Linked DNA regions of Homo sapiens: region 1 is linked to region 2. The links are contacts of gene promoters, found by promoter capture Hi-C in blood cells and fetal thymus (Javierre and others, 2016). All regions are on one chromosome and are shown on one strand. Each heading gives the region's core, a stretch centred on a gene start or on the middle of the fragment in contact. The rest is flanking DNA. Distances are from core to core; before and after follow the strand shown.

Region 1 (6,153 bases), core at 12-2,511, 130 kb before region 2:
TTTGACCTTGGGTCTGTTCCATTGCAAGACAAATGCCCTTTGAACTACATTGCAGAAAGACAGTTCTAGGTCCCAAAACCTGGTGGCTTAAGGGGCACTGTGGGGACTCTGAAAGGTGTCTGGCTACCAGGACGTGTACTGCAGCCCTGGTTGAGCCCTCCAGTCCCAGCTCCCTGCTTCAGCTGGCTGGCAAAGCTTTGCATGGTCCAGCCTGTGCCGCCCTTTCATCCTCATGCTCTGCACTCTCTCTGTTCCAGGCTTGTTGGCCTCCGCACCTGCTGCTGAAATACAAGCTTGTTTCTGCGTGGGGCCTTTGCATGGGTCGTCTGGCTTCTTTCTGTTTCCATGTTTCAGATGAAATATCCTCTCTACAAAGAGCCCTTTCATGACCTGCCAACCTAGAGCTGCCCCTCCCCACTTTCCCCCTATTTCTCCATTTCCAGGTTGCACAGCACCTTTCCATCCAGTGCTCACTCTCTGTCTCTCCACTGGAATGTGTTCCACCTGAGCAAGGGCTGCCTTGCTTTTGCTCACCCTGTCTCTCCAGTGCCCAGGACAATGCCAGGCACATACCAGCCATCAGGAGGGTTACCAACTACTTCCTACAGGAGCAGGGAGGGGAGGCAGGGAGGGGCTCGGCTAAGGGGAGAGCTCCAGGCAGGTTGTGAGGTGTGGGTGCTCTCCTTGCTAAGGGCAGGGCCAGCTGAGCTGGACGGGGTGGCTCCTAGGGTGGGTGCGAAGGTTGGTTGAGGTGCAGGGACTTTCACAGAATCATGCTTGGTCTCTGGGACTTTAAGGGCCATCTTTTCCAGCCTAGCACCTGCATTTGGGGACACGAAGATGAAGAAAGTGGAGGCCAGTTGTCAAGGAAGGACCTTTCCTCCCAGTGCCTAGTCACTACCCTGATATCCCACCAAGAGGCAGCCCAGCCTTGGCTTCCATACCTCTCTAGTGACAGGGGGTTCACTACCCTCTAGGCAGCCATGCCACACTTTGACAGCTCTGACTTGAAAGTGTACAGCCTCTCCCTGCCCCAGGGTGACCCACATAATAAACTGCCTCCGTCTCCTGACAGGGCCCCTTCCTGTCGTCTGAGCAGGGCCTGGGCGATGACGGCAGCTCCTCTTTCCTGCTTGCTTCCCTCAGTTCAAGTGCTGTGGCGGGGAGGACTACCGAGATTGGAGCAAGAATCAGTACCACGACTGCAGTGCCCCTGGACCCCTGGCCTGTGGGGTGCCCTACACCTGCTGCATCAGGAACACGGTAGACACTGCTCCTGTGGGGACTGGGGGGCTGTCGGGGACCCCAGGTGGTATAAATGTTCTCTTTTCTCTCTTCCCAACTTGAAGATGGGTGGTGTGGGTGGATGGCAGGGAAGTAGGAGTTGGTGGCAGAGCGGAGGCTTTCCTGATTCTCAAGGGCTCCTGAAAGTGGAGCTTCTGGGGGTCGGGGGTAGGGAGACCATGTCTTTCTTAGTGGTGTTGGTTAAAATCTATTGAGCACCTACCTTGTGCAGGCCTGCTCTGGGCACTTTGGTGGTATTTACTCATTTAGTATTCACGACAACCCTGTGAGGTATGTACTGTTATTTTACCCACTTTACAGATGAGGAAATTGAGGCACTCAAAGGCTGGGTGTCTTGCCCAAGGTTGGCAGGGCTGGGATGAAGTGCAGGCAGCTGTTGCCTGAGCTACACTCTGGAGAACTGTGCAGGCCAGGTGAGGGCAGGAGGGAGAGGTGCCCAGGCCAGGGGAGCTTAGCGGGGGTAGCTGGCTCTGCAGCATTAGTGGAGGCAGGCAGGACCTGCACCTTGGGCATCTCCATTGGTCTTTGGCCTTGAGGTCCTGGTGATCATCAGCAGCAGAGTGCTTGGAAGGGGGTCTGGTGACGTAAATGCCATCCTCTTCCTCTCCCCAGCACGATCCTCTCGGGTCTGTCACCTTGGTCATTTGGGATGATGTCTTGTGTTGTCAGCGCTTAAGTGAAAGGCTTCATCAGTCCTTGTGTTTGACAAATGTGTCCAGAAACTGTTTCAGGATTGGAACGAGGTGGAGAGCTTTGCAATTACTCATGGCCCAGATAGTCATGGAAAGTTTTTCTCCTGACATTGCCACCATTCTGTGCCCACTGCTGGATTCTGTAAACTGAGCAGCTGCGGGTGGGGGCCTCGCCCATGAGTCAGAGAGCCAGTGCCAAGTGCACTAGCTCTAAAAAAGGCCGGGCCAGGAGGGAAGCTTTGTTTGGAAGTGTTAGCTGCCATTTTAGGGTAGTTCTCTGGGAAGTGGGGTGCTGAGGAGTAGCAGAGTTTCCAGAGAGGCCTGCGTGGGGTGATCCTGAACCTCATCACCCAGGGCAGCAGCATCTGAATACCTAAGCTGAGATGTGGAAGCCAAACTTGTATTCATTCATTCATTCATTCATTCAACAAATATTGGCTGAGAACCTACTCTATGCCAGACACATTTCCAGGTTCTGGGGGTGTAGCAAACAAAGTCTCTGCCCGCAAGGAGGTGACATCCTAGTGGAGAAAACTGACAAACAAAATAAGTAAAAGATAGAGGATCATAAATGCTGAGTAGAAAAAGAAAGTAGGGCATGGAGGATTGCAGTTTGGGATACTGAGAAAGGCGGGATCTGGGTGAAGCTCTGAAGAAAGTGAGGAAGGTGTCTGGGGGAGGGGCATTCCTGGCAGCAAGAACAGCTGTGCAAAGGCCCCAGGTGGGAATCACCCCAGGGCGTTTGAGAAATGCACAGAGTGGCTGGAGCAGAGGGAGCACAGCGGAGGATGGTAGGAGGTGGAGTCAGGGAGGTCATGGGTACCCCGAAGGCCACAGGCAGGACTGTGGGGCACCCTTGAGTGATGGACCATACAGGGCTGCATGGAAGAGGGGCACTCTGACTTGGTTTTACAAGAATCAGTCTGGCTGTTGTGAGGGACATGCTAGATGCAGGGATAGAGTTAGGGGCTGATATGCAGTGATCCAGGGGTCATAGGTCATCTTGTCCAGGAAGGTGCTCTTGGATCAACACCTGTGGAAGTGGGAGCCAGAAGCGGGATTGGGCAATGAAGGGAGTTGAGCAGTGATGCAGCCTCAGCTCAGTTCGGCTGGAGGCCTCAGCCACATCTATGAGGACAGCCCTTCAGAGTTGTCCCCTACTGGGGTGAGGGGGCCAGGCCTTCACACTCCCACCCACATTGACCAGGCATTGCATGAGTCCAGTGGTCCACCCAAGAAGGGACTTGCTGGCTCTGTTCAGCCAAGAACAGACTAATACAGCAAGAGGAAAGAGAGGGATTGATTGATGATAAGGAATTGGCTTGTGTAATTATGGAGGCGGGCAAGTCCCAAGATCTGCAGGGTGAGTCGGCAGGCTGGAGACCCAGGAGAGCTGAGGGTGGAGTTCCCATTCAAAGGCTGGTCAGGCTTCAAACCTAGGAAGAGCCAGCATTTCAGTTCAAGCCCGAAGGTAGCCAAGCAGGGAGAATTCTCTTATGGTCACTGAGGAGAGGGCAGTCTTTTGTTCTGTTCAGGCCTTCCCTGATCAGATGAGACCTCTCCCCCTTGGGCAGGGCCATCTGCTTTACTTAGTCTGCTGATTTAAACATTAGCCTCATGCAGAAACACCCCCACAGAGACACCCAGGATAATGTCTGGCCAAATATCTGGGTATCCCATGGCCTGGTCATGTTGACATATAAAATTAATGATCACATGAAGTAGTTATTGCAGGGGGCTGACACCTAAGGGCTCCCCACAGCATCCCTGCACCAGGGAGGGGAAGACAGATGCTTGGAGCTGGGTGGTGGTGGTGGTGGTGGAAGTGGCAAACCGTGGTGACATTCTGGCTGTATTTTGCAAGTAAGCCTACAGGATTTGCTCGCATAGCAGATGTGGGCGATGAATGAAAGAGAGAAATCAAGGAGGATACCCAGGTTTTGGTCTGAGCCACAGGAAAGACGGGGCTGCCACTGCCTGAGAGGGGAGGACTGCAAGGAGGCAGGCTGGGTGACCAGGAGCTCACCGTGGACGTGGGGGGTTTGAGAGCCTGTTCAGCATCCCATCAGGGGTGTCAAAGATGCGGTTGGATATAGGAGTCTGGAGTTCTGGGAACGACTAGGCAAGGGGTGTAAACACGGACATCATCTGCAGATAGGGTAGAATCTAAAGACAGCATCTGAATGAGAGCACTGAGGTAGGGAGGAGCCTTCCCCTGGCCGGGGTTATCTGACCCTGTGTTACACATGACCATTGAGTCTCCCTGTGCCACCACACCTGGATGATTTTCTCTAAATGTGAAACAGGGCGTTCGCTTCCTCCATAGAACTGGTTGATTTGTGTCCAGATCTATTTATTTTACACTGTACTATTCAACCTGGGATTTGAATGAGTACACGGGAAATATGTAGTGTAAAAAACTAAAATAGCATTAAAAATCAGGACTGTGGGAATTGTATTCTCAGATAGGAGGCCTAGATGATGGAGAAAAATATAAAATCCTGCTATCTAAGCCTCAGGACCTCATGGACTCACTGAAAAGGAGCTGAGCCTCGTGTCTGGTGGCTTGGAGCAGGGCTCCCCTACCTCCAGGCCATGAACCAGTACCGGTCAGTGGCTTGTTAGGAACCAGGTCGCACAACAGGAGGTGGGCAGAGGTTGAGGGAGCATTGCCACCTGAGCTACACCTCCTGTCACATCAGCAGCAGCATTAGAGTCGCATAGGAGTGTGAACCCTATTGTAAACTGTGCATGCAAGGGACCTAGGGTGCATGCTCCTTATGAGAATCAAACTAATGCCTGATGATCTGAGGTGGAATGGTTTCATCCCGACACCATCACCCCCCACCCCCCCGCACCCCATCCTGTGGAAAAATTATTTTCCTTGAAACCAGTCTCTGGTGCCAGAAAGGTTGGAGACCACTGGCTTAGAGTTTCCTGGCAACCAAAAGGAAAAGGGAGACATGGTCTGTTACATTGTTACTGTTCAGCAGAACATACCAGCAGAACATACCAGTTCTTCAGGGAAAGTAACCTTTTCCCTAACACTCAGCTTTAAAAGAAATGTCTTATATGAGCTTCCAATAGAGGATTTGAGCCATAGAAGTTCACATAGGGCTGTAAAATCTGGTTATACCAGGATATATCCCTCGGAGATGTTGGTGCAGAGGGCAGCGTGCTTCTACATTAAATGGCTCCAGACTGCTGTGCCTGCTGAGCTCTTGGGACCAATTTTCACGTACCTCCCCTCCCTTGTTGTTGGCTACCCCTTGGGGGCCTGTCGCGAAGGCCCCTCTCCCTGTCCCCATTAGCTGCTCAGTCTTTTCAGGGTGAGAGGATGCACACACAAACATTGCTGTGATCTTCTGGCTGCCCAGGAGTCCCCCTTCTGACTTCCTGTCCTGTGGCCCCGTGCAGGATGGAAGAGGCTACTGGACCCTGGTCTTGGGGCCTGTGAACTTCAGCAGAGCCTCTTGCAGAATATCGATTCTATGGTCAGGCAGGTAAACCCAGGCAGGCTTTACTTTTGGAAAGACTATGGATGCATCGTATCCCCTCACCCCTTGGTGAGGGGCTCTCCTGGCAGGGTGAGGTGAGTCCCCCCTGGGCCTGGAGAAGGGTTCTGGGCTCTGATGCCAGAGAGGCCTCTGCCAGTTGCCTGTGTGCTAAGAGACTCATCCCCCGAGGTCACCAGAGCTGGCCCAGTGAAGTCACTCTTGTCACCTCCCTACGTACCATGCAGCTTACCTATTTGTTATGTTCATTATCTCCCTTTCTACAGTGTAAGTTCCATGAAGGCAGGGACTTTGTCTTGTTGTTCTGTATTTCAAGTGACTAGAACTGGGATTGACATGCAATAGGTGCTCAGTTAATATTTGTTCAATGAACAAATGAATGAACCAATGAGATGGAAAGCACTCACTCCCATCATGTGCCCGTGCACCTGCTCTCCAGGCCTGACCCTCTCCATAGGGGTTGTGTTTATGGCCTGGAAGGGCCAAAAACACTGGCTGACTAATGCCCAGTGGGCACTGGGCATGGCTGGGACTGAGGCTACCTGGAGAACCAGCTAAACCGAGGGAGGTCGTCTTGCCTGCACATCAAGCCCTGACATTTAGAATGACCTAGATGACATCTGAGGCCCAACCCTCTCTCG
Region 2 (5,906 bases), core at 3,003-5,502:
TGAAACATTCATCAAGATAGACCATATCCTGGGCCCTAGAACAAACCTCAACAAACTTAAAAGAATTGAACTCATACAGAGTGTGTTCTCTGACCACAATGTAATTACTAGAACCAATAATGGAAAGATAACAGGAAATCTCCAACACTTGTAGACTAAATGATCCTTTAACATAATCCATGGACCAAAGGGGAAGTAGCAAAAGAAATTTAAAAATACATATAACTAAATGAAAATGAAAATACACGTCAAAATGTGTGGGGCACAGCTAAAAGTGCTAACAGGGAAATTTATAGCACTAAATGTTTACATTGAAACATCTCAAATCAATAATCTAAACTCCCGACTCAAGAACTTAGAAACAGAAGAACAAAATAAACCCAAAGCAAACAGAAGGAAGGAAATAATAAAGATAAGAGCAGAAATCAATGAAATTGAAAACAGAAAAATAGAAACAGAAGACTCAGTGAAGCAGCGCTGGTTCTTTGAAAAGATCAGTCAATAAGATTGATAAACCTCTAGCAAAAGTGAAAGACACAAGATAGAAGACACAAGTACCAATATCCGGAATGACACAGGGATATCAGTGCCTGCCCTGTAGCCATGTGACTCGTTCTTCACAATGGAATGTGAGGGAAGTAATATGTGCTACACCTACAATACTTTTCTTTAAAAGAAATCACTAGCCCTCATTTCTTCTGTCTCACCTTTCCATGAGCTGCATATGGCGAAGAAGTTGGTGAGGCAGTTTTGACGACGCAAATAAGGGTGGCATCCTAGGGTGTAGGGGAGCAATAAGCTAGGAAGAGTGGATGTCCTTGGCTGGCCTTGTGAAGCAGAGCTGCCCATCTACTTGATTGAGTCACTGTATATTTTTTTTGTTCCAGCAGCATAGCCTGTACTCAAGCTAATATATTACACCTAGGTGGGTTTATGTCTTAGGGGACTTACATACTTACATATAACCAAGATATTGTGGGGCCACTCCAGTCTTCTGACTATGTAAGGTGTTTTCTGAGGCCTCCATCAATCCTCTGGTCCCCCATCATCTGTCCATGGATGAGGGCCATCACTGAACCACCCTTCATACCTGTCTACCTGACCCTTTCAAGTCCAGCAATTTTCCCACTACTACTACTACTACTACTACTACTACTACTACTACTACTACTTACTACTCCCTTGTCATTGCTGGAGCACAAGAATCCTTCCACCACACCTCAGACACAATGGACCCAAGGATTTCCACAAGGCCATATAAGGCCCTACCTGTCATACTCACTATCTGGCCATTCCCTTTCCCAAGCCTCATGCCCACCTTTGAGATCCAGCACACAACACCTATGCTCCCATCATTTCCTCCTTTCCCAGTGTTTTCTCTGAAGAGGCCCCTGTCATACTGTCTTCCATGGCCACAGGCCTAAGGAGGCACCAACAGTGGGCACTGGCAAGCTAGTGCTGCCTTTCTCCCACACCATTCTCTGAGTAATAAACACAGGCATAGTGTCTGCCAGAGTAGGGGAAAGAGACAGGGGGAAATAGCAGGAGAAAGAGATAGATAGATTAATATATTTAAAATGACATCACCATTATCATCATGCCATTCTCTTTTGAGGCAGAAACAGTTGTTCCCACCTGCAGAGTCAGAGAACAGGCCAGGACACCTGACTTAAAAATTATGACCTCTGCTATGAACAGAAAACCAAAAGCACATTTTTATTGACCACATGTTGGGGTTAAGGCATGACCCAATGCCCAATCTTGTGCTGATGGCACTGGGGAAGGTGGGGGCACAATTGTAAAGAGGCTGCAGAGCTGAGATGAACTCAGGGGAGTCTGTTTGGTGGATGCAAAAGCCTGGAATGCAGAGCCCGGGGACCTGCCTTCATTTGAACGCTGGCTCTGTCACTGACCTTGGGCTCATCATCTACCTTGTCTCTGAGCCTCAATTTCACCTTGGTAAAAGAGGAATAATAACACCTACTCTTTCTATTTCATAATCCAAAAAAGAATGAAGTGGTCTCTGGGAAAACACTTTGGAAGTAAGGACTCTGCACATATAGGGGTTATTATTATTATTACATGAAACAATCACGTTTGTGGATGAAGGGATTTAGATTGGGTGGAGCTGGCCTTCCAGCAGATATTCAGGCCCAAGCAAAGCAGGCCTTTGGGTGATCTACTTCAGGGAAAGCAAAGAGGCCAGGTGGGCAGAGCTGAGGGAAGGAGTTGCTGACAGTGTGCTGGGGCTAGAGTTGGAGGGTTGTCAAAGCCTTGCCAATGAGTTGGGGCTTGTTGGAGCAGACAGTAGGGACCATTGCAGGTTCTTGAGCAGGAGAGACACCTGAAGAAGGTGGAGAGATAGCAAAAGTGGTATGTTGCCTCCTTAGGCTATTTTAGTTGGTAATAATAGGCTATTTCTAAGTCCAGTCAAGCACTATCACTTCCCACCCCAAAGCTGTTCTTGACTTTTCTGTAGGGACTTGCTTCTTCCTCTCGACTCTTACGGTTCTCTCCAGCTGGAGTGTATCTCTCTGGCAGCAGTTATACCAGCTCAAATCTTCCTGAAAACATCCATGATTTTCTGCCTGTATCCCCTGGTTTCCCAGCCCACAGAGGTTACCTCCCTCTTGGGGCTCCTGAGTTCCGTGACCTACTTATGGGGTTCTGTTCATGGAAGGCAGTGTTTCTCGGCCCTAGCTGCTCATTAGAAGACTGGTTTTTAAAATGTCTCCATGCACAGATTGTAACCCAGATCAACGACATTGTGATCTCTGGGGTGGAACCTAGGTATTGGGATGGTTTCTAAACATTCCAGGTAATTCCAATGTGCACATTGCGATTTGGGATCACAGGCCACCTCTGACAATCGGGCATCCTGCCTTGTGATTACTGCTTTCATGCGTGCACTTGGCATACCTGGAACACACTGGGGTGTGGGGAGAAAGCACTAGGATTTTGGTTTATATTTACTTTACATCCTATGCTTTTAAAATGTGCATGCTTTACAATCGACTTGATAGTAGAAGAGGTAATGATCATAACAGTCAGCAGCCGTTGAGCATGTACTGCAGCCAGGCTCTCATCCAAGCACTTGACACGAAAGTGCCAGAAAGCAGTCACACCAACATTCAAACACAGGATGGCTCCAGCAGCCACCTTTTATCCATCATGCCAATCTGTTCTCACAGTACACATGTGTAATTTAGAAACAAACAAAAATAGTAACATATAAATAAGATACAGATACCAGAGCGACCCGTGAAACATTTTTTGCTGATAAGGTTTCATGATCAAATAATCAGACTATGGTGGCCGACTATGAGTCCTCCAGGCCAGGTCTAAATCTCTCTCTTAGTTTTGTTCCTTCTGCCCAGCAGCTAGCAGAATCTGGGTTCTAATAAATGCTCAACAAATATCTGCCACTCCCACAAACATTTATTAAATGATAATCATAGCTAACGTTTATCAACATTGCCAATGTGCCAGAGACATCATACTTAATCTTCACAGAAGTCCTGTAAGGCTATGATTACACCTGCTTTGTGACACTGAGCAGCTAAGTAACTTGCTAGAGTCCAGAACCTGAACCCAGACTGTGGGACTGCACAGCTCATTCTCCCCCACTGGTGAGCAGGTCCACAGGGAGCAGCTTATGAAGGTGGTGGGGGAGAAGTGGATTTTAAAACATCAGGAAGGAGGCAGAGGTGGATCATTCACTCCCTGCAGGTGGTTCCTTCTGCCAAGAGTGACCTTCTCTATCCTTACCTACCCTCCTGCCCCAGCTCAAACGCATCTTCTCCTGGAAGCCTACAGAGGGTTCTGCCCCGTTCCTGCCTCATCTTCCCCACTGAACTTGGAACTCCTAGAGGGCAGGGTTGGGTCCTACTCAAGGGGCATCCACGGAGCTGGGTCAGCAAACATAACACTGGTCATCTGAGCCTGCGCCCGCCCTTCCTCCCAGGCCAGGGCGCCCCCACCCCCTGGGTTTTTCCTCCGTGGACGCCGCTTCCTTTTCCTTCTTTTCTCCCTCCTCCTTCTTCTCCTTCTTTTCCACGTGTCTTCTCCTCCCATCCTCTTTTCTCTCCATCCCCACCTCCCACTCCTTCCCACGCCCCATCTCCCCGACCCCCAGCACCCCGCGCCGCCCCCAACCCTGGGCCGGGCAGGTGCAATTCCTCAGGCGGCCTACAGAGGGCGATGTGCGCCGCCACTGGGCCGCGCCCCTCCGGCGCGCGCTTCCTGTGAGGTCAGGTGGGAGGAAACCGCCTGGAGCCGCCGGGAGTGGACGCCGCCGAGGCCCGGAGTCGCGCCTGCAGGTGAGTCGCCGCGCCGGGGAGGGAGCGCATCCCTCGCTGCAGCCCGGGCCGGGACTTGGAGCCGGTGTCGGGCTCCAGAGGCTGGGGCTGGCGGCCGGGGCAGCGTCCCTCCCGCCCCCGGCCCGGAATGTCAGGTGCGCCGCGGGCCGGGCGCGCGGGTGGCCCACCGGGCGGGGGCGCGATGACAAAGCACAAAGGGACTGCGCGCGACCACCATCCGCTCGGCCTGCGCCAGGGCCAGCGGGCTTCAGGAGGGGGACGCGCCTGTCCCGGGCTCCAGGCTACGGGCAAGACCACAGGGCTCCTGACCTTTTTCGGCATACATGTCACCAGTGCTATCTGGAATGTAGGTGGACACTGAGGCTCATCTCCTGAGAATGAATGGCCTTTACCCAGACTCAAGGGGAGGCGTGGAGGGGCCCCGCAGTCCAGGGGTCCGCGGAGTGGAGCCTTTCGAGGGCCACCGCAGCAACCCCCTCCCATATTTTGGGAAGGCTGGGCCCTGCGCCCGTTAGCCAAGGTTGGACTGGTGTTCCCTGCGAAGTGAGGGACAGGTGAGGGGCGTGCCCTCTGCAGCAAAGGTGTGCTCTTCCGAGGCGCATGATGGCTAGGATGGTCTGCCGCTACCAGGCAGTGGTTGTAAAGTAACCCCGAAGTGACCCTCATCTCCCTGGGTGTTCCTGGGGAAGGCCCAGGTGGTGACATTGACTCCCTGGGGGAGCAACACACTCGACCCATTTTTTAGTGGAAGGGAATTGGAACCCCACTGGGGATGCTGGTGCCCTGGACTCCCAGTTTAGTACCCAGGGAGGGCCCTAGAACCAGAGCTTCTGGCCTCGTGTTCCTTCTCTGCTGTCCGTAGGTGTGATCCCGGGCAGGCCACTTAAGTCTCCCTGTGCCTCCGCCTGTGCAATGGCCGCGCTAGTACCCTCCTCGGGGGAGTGTTGTGAGGCTTGAGTGAGGTGAGCCTTGCAGGATGGGCCTTCCACGGGGCGTGGGCCACAGCAGAGGCTCTAGTCCCAGTTGTGCTGTTGGCAGTGTAGTGATTGGCAGTAAAACTTCCTTTGCCAAGGATCTTTTTGATAGTTTTCCTGGTGGACTCAATGTCTGAAATCTTTTTGCCTGGCAAACAACTTGCCTTTATTTCTCCCCTTTTTGTTAATCAGACACAGCATCTACTCAGCGTGGGTCACCTCTGTGAACATCACTGACTGCAAGCCTCCCTCAATTTCTGGTAAATTTTTTCCTTCAAGCTTTTTGAGGTCAGGGGGAAAATCCTCCACAGATCTTCACGAGTCTGGTCCCAGATCACTAACAGCTAAAGGTTTTGTGGTGGGGAGAACTTCTGTGCCACTTGGCTTCCATTAGCCTGCCCACCCTGACCACACAATGCAGGTGCAGCCCATCAGGGACCCACAGCGCCTGGGAGGATGGTGCGGATCTTGGCCAATGGGGAAATCGTGCAGGATGACGACCCCCGAGTGAGGACCACTACCCAGCCACCAAGAGGTAGCATTCCTCGACAGGTAGGTACTCATTTCCTGTGGAGTGGGACAGATGGCCTCCTGTGTACTGGCTACTCCTAGC

What was found. Contacts are between HindIII fragments. The CHiCAGO score rates a contact against its expected background, and 5 or more counts as called.
Region 1: a contact is called between a fragment that was not itself captured here and the fragment with the promoter of FAM241B in region 2, in 4 of 17 cell types (naive CD4 T cells, non-activated CD4 T cells, naive CD8 T cells and 1 more). The highest score is 7.3, in naive CD4 T cells.

The regions. Positions count from the first base shown.
Region 1 is chr10:69,497,134-69,503,286 of GRCh38, forward strand. TSPAN15 (tetraspanin 15) reads left to right here. Exons shown (of 8, transcript NM_012339.5): 5 at 1,147-1,263. Among named protein-coding and RNA genes, the nearest start is that of TSPAN15, 49 kb to the left of the region's middle. The HindIII fragment of the contact is 1,941 bases long and covers 292-2,232 here.
Region 2 is chr10:69,625,995-69,631,900 of GRCh38, forward strand. It overlaps FAM241B (family with sequence similarity 241 member B), which reads left to right and starts at 4,253. Exons shown (of 4, transcript NM_145306.3): 1 at 4,253-4,319; 2 at 5,486-5,553; 3 at 5,715-5,845. The coding sequence starts at 5,750. RefSeq lists an enhancer at 4,796-5,681. The HindIII fragment of the contact is 17,043 bases long and covers 1-5,570 here.